Regions from separate parts of the Homo sapiens genome. Here region 1 is linked to region 2. Evidence: promoter capture Hi-C in 16 types of primary human blood cells and fetal thymus (Javierre and others, 2016). All regions are on one chromosome and are shown on one strand. The core of a region is centred on a gene start or on the middle of the fragment in contact, and the rest is flanking DNA. Distances in the headings are between cores, read along the strand shown.

Region 1 (5,563 bases), core at 632-3,131, 140 kb before region 2:
GATGATGAGATCATTCTTAAAAATATTTGTTATTATATTTGAATATAAATATTAATTAATTTAACTTTCTAAGCATACCCTTCCACTTTATCCCAAAATATATTTATTAACTTTTAAAATATGAATATATACTGAGGTCAAAAAATGATGCTCTAACTTGTGATTTATAACGGTTGGGAATATAATTTAAAAAATTGATAAAGTCTTGATTGAAAACTGCTTGTATTTTTAAAGTGTAACTATTTAGAGAATAAAATAGGAATTGTTCAATTATTAATTTATGAATATTTACAGAGCATTATACTGAGAAATGTAGTTGGATGATGCTTCAATTTGAATAAAAGATTAGGCTCTCAAGTACAGCATTTCTTTCACTGCTAATGAGAAAGAATCCAAACTCTCTGTGAAAGGAAAGAAAGTCACACATTTCTTGACATGTTGCAGGATCTCCTATATTCTTTATATTTGAAGGAGTTTACCGTGAAGAAGCTGACTGCTATGAACAGCATGTGAAGGTGGAGGAATTCCAGCCCAGTGAGGAGCTCCCCTGAACCAACTGGCCTCAGTGACCCTCAGAAGGAGTCAAGGTGGGTATACGCAGCCTGGCAGCCCATGAGGCCCAAGGGGAGGGGAGGGAGCAGCACGGATTTAAGACCCACGTCCACTCCTGAGAAGAGAGCAGCAGGATTTGGTGCTTCTCCTCCAAGCAGGTTTAGAAAAGCCCCTTGTGATGGGCTCTGCCCAGTAACCATGGGTCCAGCTGCCACAAACCCCAAGGGACACCCCAACATTCTGCCTGGAACCCTCCTAGTAGCTGGCATTCTGGATTGGTCAATTTTATGGTCACAGACAGGGGAAATTTGTGAATGAAATATACTTATCTCATGACCTCTTCTACAGACTCCACCATTTTTGGCATCTCCTCCTTTGCCTCTTATTGCTTGGAGAGTTTGGATCTCTCTTTCAATTCTCGAAACAGAGAATTGAATTCCTCCATCAGCATCAAGTTGGTGCTCCTCATTTTTTTTTTAAGTATCCTAAGTCTGGGTATATTTAAAGACTCTATCTACCCTGACATTCTCTAAAGATAATTCAATCTCTGCAAACTCCTTACTGGTAGCACTAAGCTTGTTAGTGAGTTGGCATTTCTTTTCAATCTGTGAATTTAGTGTTTCCACAGTTGTTTCCACGCTTTACACAAAGTTGACCCCTAACAGACTGAACAAGCCTCAATAAAACCATGAGACCCACCAATAACCCGATGAGAGGCAAACACACCAGTGTCTCCACCTGGAGTTTGTGGACAGTGAGTTGTGGACTGAGATCATGTGGCAGGAGCTCCACCACCACCTTGCCCAGCTTCTGAAGGGTCAGTCCAGGGCCCAGGTCCACAGAGGATCTCAGACTCTCCATGGCACTGCAGCCACCACAGAGCTCTGCCCAGTAACCGTGGGTCCAGCTGCCACAACAAACCCCAAGGTACACCCCAACATTCTGCCTCGAACCCTACTAGTAGCTAGCATTCTGGATTGGTCAATTTTATGGTCACTGGCAGGGGAAATTTGTGAATGAAATATACTTATCTCCATTACAATTTGATGATCATTCTCCTTTCCATCTTATTGTTTTATCTTAACACAAAATTAAACTATAGTGAAATGTGCAGATGTTATCTGTCAATGACTTTACAGATTTTTATAACTTTATATTCCTTACAGTATCCAACAGCCCTATTAATATATGGATCATATCAGCACAGAAAATCCCCTCTGACATTTCAGACAGGCCCACCCACTCTACCATACACAGCCCTGTTTTGATTTTTATTTTATACATCATTTTTGACAGTTCTTCAACTTCATAAAAATTACAAAAATCACATTGTACACCTTCATGTGCGCCTCTTTTACTTGAAAGTGACTATTCCACAGATTTTCAATCAGTGGGTGTTTGTACATGCTAGGCGGGCTGTGGAAGGAAGTCAAATGGTCTACAAATGAGTTATTTTGATAGTCTCAGGTTACACATCCAGGTCTTACAGTCCTCCAGCTCAGAAGATTGTTTTCTTTACAATGTAATGGAGAAACATTCTTCTTAGTATGTTTATTTTTTATTTGGTGACTTACAAAAATTGATTTTCTGTAAAACAAGAGAGGCTTAAATGACATTAGGTCCCCTACTCCATTCTCTTTATAAACTGATTTTCATTTACTTGCTGTATCAGTTCTCAAGATAGATATTATTATACTATCTAGTCATTTTAGACTAAAACTTTACTAATTTATATTCAAACTCCTGTATATTAGGGATGGGATAGATTTTAACTATAAATTTTTATTCAGCATGTTTAATTTTTTCTTTTACATTCTTAAAATACTGATACTTATTTGAAAAGTGCCTTCTAGTAGTATAGGTAATTAAAAATACATGTAAATACATAAATTAGTTTTAAATTTTTCAGTAAAACCTTGTTTTTTTAATGGAAAGAAAATATGTCTTAGAAATAAAGTTTAATCTTACATTCCTACAAAATATATAACAGTGTTTTCCAAAGTTCTCCTTGACAGAGAAAGAGAGAGAGAGAAAGCAACCAAAGAGTAAATTGGAATTCATCAAAATTAGAAAACTAAGCTTTGTGGAAGTCCCCTTTAAAGGGATAAAGTAACATACTACAGACGTAAGGAAGTATTGGCCAGCTGCATATCTGACAAAGGGTAGTATCCAGAACATGTGAAAAACACTCCGAATGCCACAGTGGGGAAAAACTCAATTACATTAGGTAACAGATGTGAAGTGACATTTCCCTGAGGAGGAGATGGAGATGGCAAGTATCCACATGAAAATATGTTAGCTATTTCTCGGAGATGCAAATTGAAATCATACTGCAATATTATGGCAAATTTACCAGAATGCTTTAAGCAAAATACGGAAAATGTACCAAATACTGGTGAGCATGTGGAGAAACTGGATCACTCATATTGCTGGTGGTAATTTATTTAAAATGATATAGCCACTATGGGAAAAAAGTGTGGCAGCTTTTTTTTTTTAATATGGCAGTGAATTTCCTGTAATCAAAAACAACCATGACAAATTCATTAAATATCAAAAGCTACATTTTACTAAAAACAATCTGTCTTTTTAAATGTTGAATCATACACTGTATATAATACATGCTTCTTTCCCTCTTGGACTTCACTATCCATTTGAGTCCTTCAGCTAGCGTCAAGCACTTAGCCTCTGCTGTCTCTGACTTGGAGTAATCCCAGGCTTTGAAATCTCAAAGGTATTCACAATCTCCTCCCAGTCAGGGTACCTCACAGCTAGAATTCCTCGATTCCTAACTTGGGTGTTTTGGTGAATTTCCTCACTTTCTTCATTAATATTAACAGGCTCTATTATTTGCAGTCGGTCTTGGTCAGGTTTTACTCTTGCAAAACCATCCTGTATAATGAAGGAAACATGAAAGATGTTTTCCACTGTTTGGGGGAAAGATTGTGGATCAACCACAAAGGCAAAGAAGGACGCTGGGTAGCATCTCGAATATACAACTGCAACAATCCCAAGATTCTTTCTACTTCTTTCTTTGTTGTTTCTTGATGAGATTCTTCCCTTCTTTTTAACTGGGCAGGCATTATCGTCTCCTTTTGTATCATAGGAAGTTTTCTTGGACTAATGATTTGGGACTTTGGCACAAGGAACTCTCCTTGTGTTGAATCCAACAGAGAGTGGAGTGTATGGGCTTGATTAAAGGTGTTTTCTGCTCTTTTGCCTGATATTTTCCAGGAGTCATAGACTATGAATTCAAATCAGAGCTATCTTCATCACGGATGAGTTCTTCAGCTTCTGGCAGATTTACACCCATACATGTCAGTAAAGTTTCAACACAACATGTCCAACAAGTTCAGATCTGAGCACAGCTGCTTTGCTTTCCCTTTGCCCAGATCCGAAGCCAAAACAAGAATCTGGGCATCTAGGACTGCTTGTCTTGCTCGGGACACTCTCTTAGACAGAGTGAGAGCCTCTTCAGCACCTCAGTGCTCACAACCTCCATGCAGCAGGTGTCCTGATGGGTTGATTGGACTCAATGCTGATGCCCCTGCCTCACTGTGAGCCTCTGCTCACACTCAGCTCTGCCTCCAGCGTTGTCCACATGCCTCAGCCCATTGTGGTCACACACACAGTTCACCAGGGAGTTACTTCTCCACCAAGGCCATGGGATTGATGAAAAAGTCTTTCACATTCCTTCTCGGCTAAACCATTACTAGTGGAGAATGAAATAAATTAGTTTAAATGTTGGGAAAGAGATTATTTGCTGATTCATTCCTGGCCTGCCACACATCTAACAGAGTGTGAACACACGTAACTGGCATGCCACCAACGTTCTGGCCCATAGTACAGCAGTCAGATACCAAAGTGAGGAAGAAATTATGGTCCTGTGTTGGGGGTGAACCCAGTAAATCCCTGTAGTTAAGAAACTACATGTTCAACTCAGAGAAGACAAACTTACAGAAAATATTTGACAAGCTCTCGGAATCTGTACCAAGGTTGATGGGTGAAGATTTTTTCCTGCTAAAGCAATCTGTAAATGCTGGGAGATGGGACTGCTTCTTCGAATATACAGATACCACCACAAACTACAACAAACATCAAGAATCAGGGGAAGATGACCCAATCAAAAAGAATGAAGTGAATCTTTAGTAACTGATTCTTTAAAAATGGAGTTAATGAATTACCTTACCAAAAGCAATTTTTAAAAATCTTAAAGAAGCTCGGTGAGTTACAAAGAACATAGATAAACAGCTAAAAATTTCAGAGAAATGATATTTTTTTTAAAAAAAATTATAAAATAGAAATAAACTAAAATTATAGAGCTAAAATATAATAACTGAAATAAAAAAATTCAAGAGAGGGGTTAAACAGCAGACATGATCAAGCAGATCCTCAAGCTTTTATTCTGGCTTTAAGCTAATAAATTTTCTGAACTGGAGAAGAAATTATTTAGCTTTTTGGAAGTTTTCTCATTTAATATTAATAAGTTTTTTTAAAATACACTCTTGTTTTCTAAAAAATAATTTATAATCAACTTATAGCTTCTTTTAAGTGAAAAGTTACCCTTTTGCTGTAATGGTGTTAACTTTCAGGCATACTCCAAAATGCAGCTTGACGCATTCAAGTGGAGCTCACATAGGAAAGCAGAACAGAGATGCTCAACTGAAGCCTGTGCAAACAGCAAAACCAAAACATTCTATAAATGCACAAAGATGAACATGGCATGTCAGAGACATTTAGGGAGCTTTGGGCTCCTTCATATAGAAATGGTTAGTCTGAAAAGAGCTAAGGAGAAACCAGTCTTAGAAATCACTATGTTAAAAACAAACATATGAAAGTAAAGTAGCCCATTCCTTTATTCTTTCTCTTAAATATTATATTGTGATTTTAAAGAATATAATGAGCCAACTGGACTTTCGTTAGCAGCTACCTTCTGTAGATCTATCATCCCACAATTTCCAACAAATAAGAGGACTGTGTAATATATTGAATAATTTTAAAGTAATAACAAAAT
Region 2 (6,201 bases), core at 1,452-3,951:
GGTATGTTCAGTAGATTGGCTGCAGTCAGCAGTCCACTGTGAGTATACACACAAAACATCATATACACCTTAAATATATACAATATTTATTTAAAATTTAAATGTAAATGTTTCATAAGAGCTTGTCCATGCTTGCTGTCTCCTCTCCTCACTTCCCATTTCCTCCTCAAGCAGCTCCCACCAGGCACCCACCTCTACCACTGTCCCGTCTCCCCTCTGGCCCCTACAACCCGTGGAGAGGATCCTTTAAAGCCTGAATCAGGTCATGTCATCCTAGTCCTGACTCCTCATCGTTCTTACAGGAAAGTCTTAAGTGCTATCATGGCCTCTGTAGAGCCACTGAACTTCTCAGATCCCCATCTATAAATGGGGTCTGTAAGGTGACTTCACACATGTGCTGAGAAGATTAAATGTCGAGATATGTACAGCACTGAGAACATTCATCATGGCTGGCACATAGGAAACCCACTGTGGATTCTTACCATTGCTTCCACTGCAGATTTCAGCAAAGACATTTGTGAGTTACCTTCCAACCCCAGCATTTTCTATGTCAGAATGGGGCAGTCCTGCAAACACAAAAGACAGATCCCCGGCCCTGTCTCTTCTTCCTGTCCCCTTCTGTTTCCCCATTGCATCTCCTTTCCCCTTGCTCTGCCTCCCAAGCCTCCCCCACCCTCTCACTCTTTCTCTCTCTCTGCCTCTTTAGCTTTTCCATGAGAGGGACAAGCACTGGGGAGGAAGTTGTATTTGTGAAAGTGACCGAGTTGTATACGATTGTGTGAGAAGAGAAGAAAGGGTGCATACAGAAGCCCTTTGAATGCTCCCTAAAATTCCCCTTTTCCATCGTATCTCTTGGGATGAGAGAGAGACTGGGCTGGTGACGGAATGGTGGCGCAGTTGTAACATGGTCATCAGAGTTCATCTACCAGCATCTCCACTTACAAGTTTGCTTTCCAATGATCACCAGCTGAATGGGTTTCCCTACAGCAAAGATATTTCTTTTAAAATACCACTATTTCAAGAGTGTTTGGACAGGGTTATAACAAAAACCATAGGTATTGGCATATGGTTTTAGATTTCCCTGAGCACTGTTACAAACCTAGTCTGAATTCTCACAACAGCCCGCTTTACACCAGGCAATGGAGTCCTAGAGGCCTGGCACTCAGAACTCTGACCGCGTGTCTTCTGGTTCTAAACTCTGTCATTTCTACTCTGCTCCTTCCAAGAGATTTTTGCCCCCTTTTCTCTAAAAATTGGAGAGAGATGAGCCCCCAAAATGGAAGAACTAAAATAGCAATAGCTACTCTCTTTGCAGGGCTTAGCCAAACCCCTAGGCAACCTTCCCCCTGCTGGAAGTCTCTCCCTGTCCCTCCCAATCAGAGTGGCCCAGGTCCCACCCAGGGGACTGGCCGAGGCTCGCCTCCTCCAGACAGTGTTCCCATTGTCTGCAGCCTGCCTGATGTCCCACTCCCCAGGGCTGGCCACCGGTTTTCCCAATCAGCTAATCAGATCCACAGATCTCTGACAAAGGGCCTCTGCTTCTGCAAGTACAAGGGCTAAGGACGAGTTGTCTCTACTTTTCCAGATAATACAGTAGCTTTCTGGAGGCAATGCCTTGCTTTTCTCTGTTATCTCAACTACATGACTGAAGAGGGAAAGAGGCCTGTGGAACGCCGGGTTTCAGCTGCAGGGCATGTTGCGGAGGCACACACCTACTCAGAAACAGTCGAAGTCTGGGATGATCCTGGGTCCATGAGTTCCTGGGGACAACACGCTTTGCCTCAGTGACAGGCCAGGAAAAGCCACTTTATAAAATTGTGTTTACCCGCCTGGCAAATTCAACTCAGGTCTCTCTCTTTGGTCTTTTCCAGACCACCCACGTGTGAACACTTTTTAGCTTGGGGCGGAAGCTCACATTTCAGAAACAGCCACTGGTTTGGCCCCAGCCCCAAAAACCCAGGACCATCTGGAAACTTGGCCCAATTCCACACTTCAACATTCCTGTTGCTGTGACTGACACCAACAGTAGCCCTTCCCTGCAGGCCCCGGCAGGCAGAAAACACACAGCATTGCACCCTAAAATGGAAGAATTTTGCTTTGAATGATGGCTCTTATCTATGGCGGTTTCTGTGAAGTTTTTGGACGGAGAAGCATTGGCAGAACACAGGGTTTTTTTCTTGTCTGGACCCATGCGTCATATGTGCACTTGAGCACACAGTTCCCTCACTCTCATTGTTTAGTCTTGTGAAATAGGGATAATGGGGCTATTCCCTTCTTCTTAATGAAACTAATGAGCCAAATATTTGCAAGATATATCAAGAAGTTTGCTAGAAGTTTTAAAACAAATTCTTCCAAAACCATTTTCTCAAAAACCTGATTTATTTAATTCCTTAGTTCTTTTTGGAAATAAATGCAACTCTAAAGTGGCATTTAAAAAGAGCAAGATGACAATTCCATAATCTGCTAGAAACATTGTCATAAACATTGGAAGTAACCTTGACTAGCTGAGCTCATGGAAATTATGTCTTCATCTGCCTGTGTCTTTCCATTTCTCTAACTTCACATTACCAGAAATGCACAGTTCATGTGGGATGACATTTATTCAAGGTAATGATAACAATCTAGCTGTATCTCCGGTGATGCATGTGTTCCGGCCCTTCCCGGCCCAAGGTCCACTTGCTTGCTTTTCTCTCCGAGCTCATTCCTTCTCATTCATTTTGCCCAGAAAGTTCCTGCTTCAGAGCTGAAGGTAAGTACATTTTCCACTAATTCCTCAGCTTGCTAAGTGCTTTTGGACCATGAATAGAGCAGCTAGGAACAAATCTGAGAAGAGGTACTATTCAGAATTCCTCCAAATAGCTCATCTTTTTAATTATGGGCTTTCATCCTTCCTAAGGGAGTTTATTATTTTTCTAATTAAACTACTACAATGAAGGCTATTACCTTTTTGTCTAGCTAAAACAATCTTCCCTATTAATGAATTTATTGGCTTCTCTAGTACTCTTCAAATTGTCATTGAGCTCTATTCAAGGACTACAGCCAGTTTTTTCCTAATAGAATTAGGGGTGAAACAAATCATGCTTCTATTATCACTTCTGGAGTTAGCCCCTTCACCTGATCAGCTTGTCTAGGTGTAAGAGTGCGGGGGTTTTAGCGCCACAAAGACGTGGGCATGCGGCAGCTTCCTGAACCTCAGGCATTGGTGTCTAAGCAACTCCACCATCCACACGTGTGACGTTACAGTTCTGGGAGATGCACGCACACTTTCTGTGCCTTTCTCAACCACTAGCTCAGTCAGCCTCCACCTTCCTAGGCAGCAACACGGGGTGCAGGATAAACAATAACTAAAAGCATACTGATTATCACATACTCCTGCAAAGTGTTTGCACCCAGAAAGCATGCAGTCACTGCCATCATGAGGGGCTCACACCTTCCTTTGGCTGGCTCTGTCGGGGGGCACATGTTACCTAGAAAAGAGGCCCAGGCATTCGATTAAACAGCTCTTCTTCATATTTCAGTTTGTCTAAGCTGCCTTCAGATAACTGTCCCCATTCTTCACTTACACACACACACTCATACACACACATATACACACATACACGTGCACACTTGTAAACATACATACATACATGCATGCAAAAAGTCCAAAAGGGATAGGAATGGGAAAGGGGTACAAAGGGGTCCAGAGAGTACAGCCTTGAGCAGATCAGAAGGAGGAGTGCTCCTCACATGCCCTCCCCACCCCATCCCCGGAGTGGGAGTGAAGCGGTGGTCACAGGCTCTGCTCACACATTCATGCCTAGATCAAGCTGTACCGAACCCTTATGTGCTGGGCCTTGTTGCAAGCCTAAGTCAGAGTGGAGCCTCCTGGAGCCCCGGCGCTGAGGACAGCGCACACTGAGACAACACTTCACACTAGCTCCCAGACAGGACACACACCCACAAAGAGCTGTGGGAGCAGGGAGACGGGAGCCCTCACCCTGCCTTTGGGACACCGCTTAGGCCGCGGCAGGGGTGGAGGAGGGCATGAACCAGGGTAATGGGGTAGATAAGCTCCAAAGCCATCCTGACTTCTCAGTGGATCCTGAATCTCTGGCAGAGGAGGTTTTTGCTCAGCAGCAAATTGCCCTCTCACTGCCTCAGAGCAACTTAAGACATCTTAAAAAAAAAAAAAAATCCTATTCTTTACCTTGTTAATGATCCCAGGTATGTTTCCTATGGAATCCTTAGTGTCTAATACATTTTAATGAGAGCTTTCTTGTCTGTGTAAGCCACATTCCTTGCCTTCATTAGGCAAATATAATTGCTGTGGGCCAGGTTGTCTGCAGGGCTCAGCCTCAGACATGGTCAGGGCAGGTCTTATCCTAAGGAACTCAGATCCATCTGCAGGGTTTTCATGTGAATAATGCCGTTGTAGAAATAAGAACAAACAGCTACAGGTGCATAGACGGGCAGCAATCCTGGGCTCCCTTGGGATGCGGGGGCAGTGGAAGAGAGTCTGTACTTGGGCAAGGACACAGTGCTGAGTGTGAGAAGTGAGGAAGGACGTGTCCAGGCCCAGGGAGAGAGAACGTGTGAACAGACAGGCAAGCGCTGGTGCAGACCCACCCAGTGGGCCTTAAAGTGTGGTGGAGTCCTAAAGTCTTAACTTCTCTGTTCTCTGACTATGAGCCGCCAGGGTACAAAATTTGGAAGATGGTTTTAAAGTAAGTTCTCAACTCAAAATATGCGTGTGCCAAGCGCTGTGCTAGCAGCATGGGTAACGCACAGAGCCTGACTTGGTGGGAGAACAACATGTGCAAACTACAGAGACTAATCAACCTAGTAGGTGTCCCAGCATCAAAACCTGGGGGCAGCAAGCGTTTGTGTGAGCAGCACAGCCGTGGCAGGGAAAGGTCCGAGTGGGTCACACTGGCAGGAAGGCACCGTGGAGGAAGCCTGCCATGAGCAGTGAAGCTCAGAGGACGGGAGATGTGAGCGGGTGGAAGGTGGTGGTCCAGGTGAGGCTGTGCAGGGAGCTGAGCATCACACTGATTTCCAACCAGAACACTCCAGCCTGGGCTTCATGCCTCCCTAGCTGTGAGCTCCTGCAAAAGCTTCCATTCTCGGGACTTTCCTTCGCTCGTCCTAAGATGTGATCACATTGTCATTCATGCCTAATTTCCAGTCTTGTGTATATTAAAAAAGAAATTATACTGTAAGCAGCAGTTCTCTGTGAAGTGTCGGAAAAGCTGTAAACCTGCCCAGCGGCCTGCAAGATGATCACACCGAGAGATGCTTCTGCCTGTGCCCGGCATGGGGAAAAAGAATAAAGCCACCCCCAAAATAAGGCTCCCTTGAAGGCCTCTCATAATTGAGCCTATGCGGAATTCAAAACAAGATGTGCGCTGGATTCAGATGAGCCATTGCCTACCATAGCGAGCTCTGCTGGCTGCAGCCAGTCTTCACAGTGATAAGCGTAACTTATAACTCTGTAAGATCAACATCAGTAAGTTCAAGGAAAACTGACTTCAGCTGGAGACAGTGACTGGGCCCTAGCAAAGCAGTTGGGATGGTCCGGGAGCAGAAAACAACGTAGAAATTCATCTGTCCTTGAATTTTTCCTATTTCAACAGAGTATTGATTAATTGATTAATAATAATCTACAAGTTTTATTATGGTGCTATGTTGTTATTTTGTTTTATTTAGCACCAAAACAGCCTCAGAGTCCTGAGCCCCTCAGTTCCCAGCTCCTCCCACAGCTCTTGGCCCAACCTGACCCGGTCCTCCTACCCATACCTGTTTCAGAGCTAGGCTTGTCCTGCTTCCAAACACTCAGCCTCTCAGGCTCTTTGGAATAACCAAGCGAGCACAGACCTTGGAATGAGGCAGATTCGCAGCTGGGTGACCTTAAGCAAGTAACCCAACCTCCCTGAGCCTCCGTTTTCTTATCTATAATATAGGCAGGGGAGCAGGAAATAGGAACACCTACCCTTTATGTGTAACTGGAGCATTAAGAGAGAATACCTTTCACTCTGCCCTGTCTCCAACCTTTAACATTGCAAGAGAAACCATGGCAAAATCAAATTGCCCTTAAAGTGCAGAATTGTAAGGATGTGCTGAGGTATCCTGGAATCTGCTGTTTTACCTGGTTGAGTATTAAGTAAAATTGCTGAACATGCATTGTGGGCCCAACACAGTACAGAATGAATTACCTAAAGC

What was found. Contacts are between HindIII fragments. The CHiCAGO score rates a contact against its expected background, and 5 or more counts as called.
Region 1: a fragment that was not itself captured here is called in contact with the fragment with the promoter of MC2R in region 2 in 1 of 17 cell types (M2 macrophages); the score reaches 5.5 in M2 macrophages.

What each region holds. Positions count from the first base shown.
Region 1 is chr18:14,052,424-14,057,986 of GRCh38, reverse strand. It overlaps the pseudogene LOC100128776. Among named protein-coding and RNA genes, the nearest start is that of ZNF519, 77 kb to the left of the region's middle. The HindIII fragment of the contact is 1,504 bases long and covers 1,130-2,633 here.
Region 2 is chr18:13,912,036-13,918,236 of GRCh38, reverse strand. MC2R (melanocortin 2 receptor) reads left to right here and starts at 2,701. Exons shown (of 2, transcript NM_000529.2): 1 at 2,701-2,749. The HindIII fragment of the contact is 17,945 bases long and covers 1-5,098 here.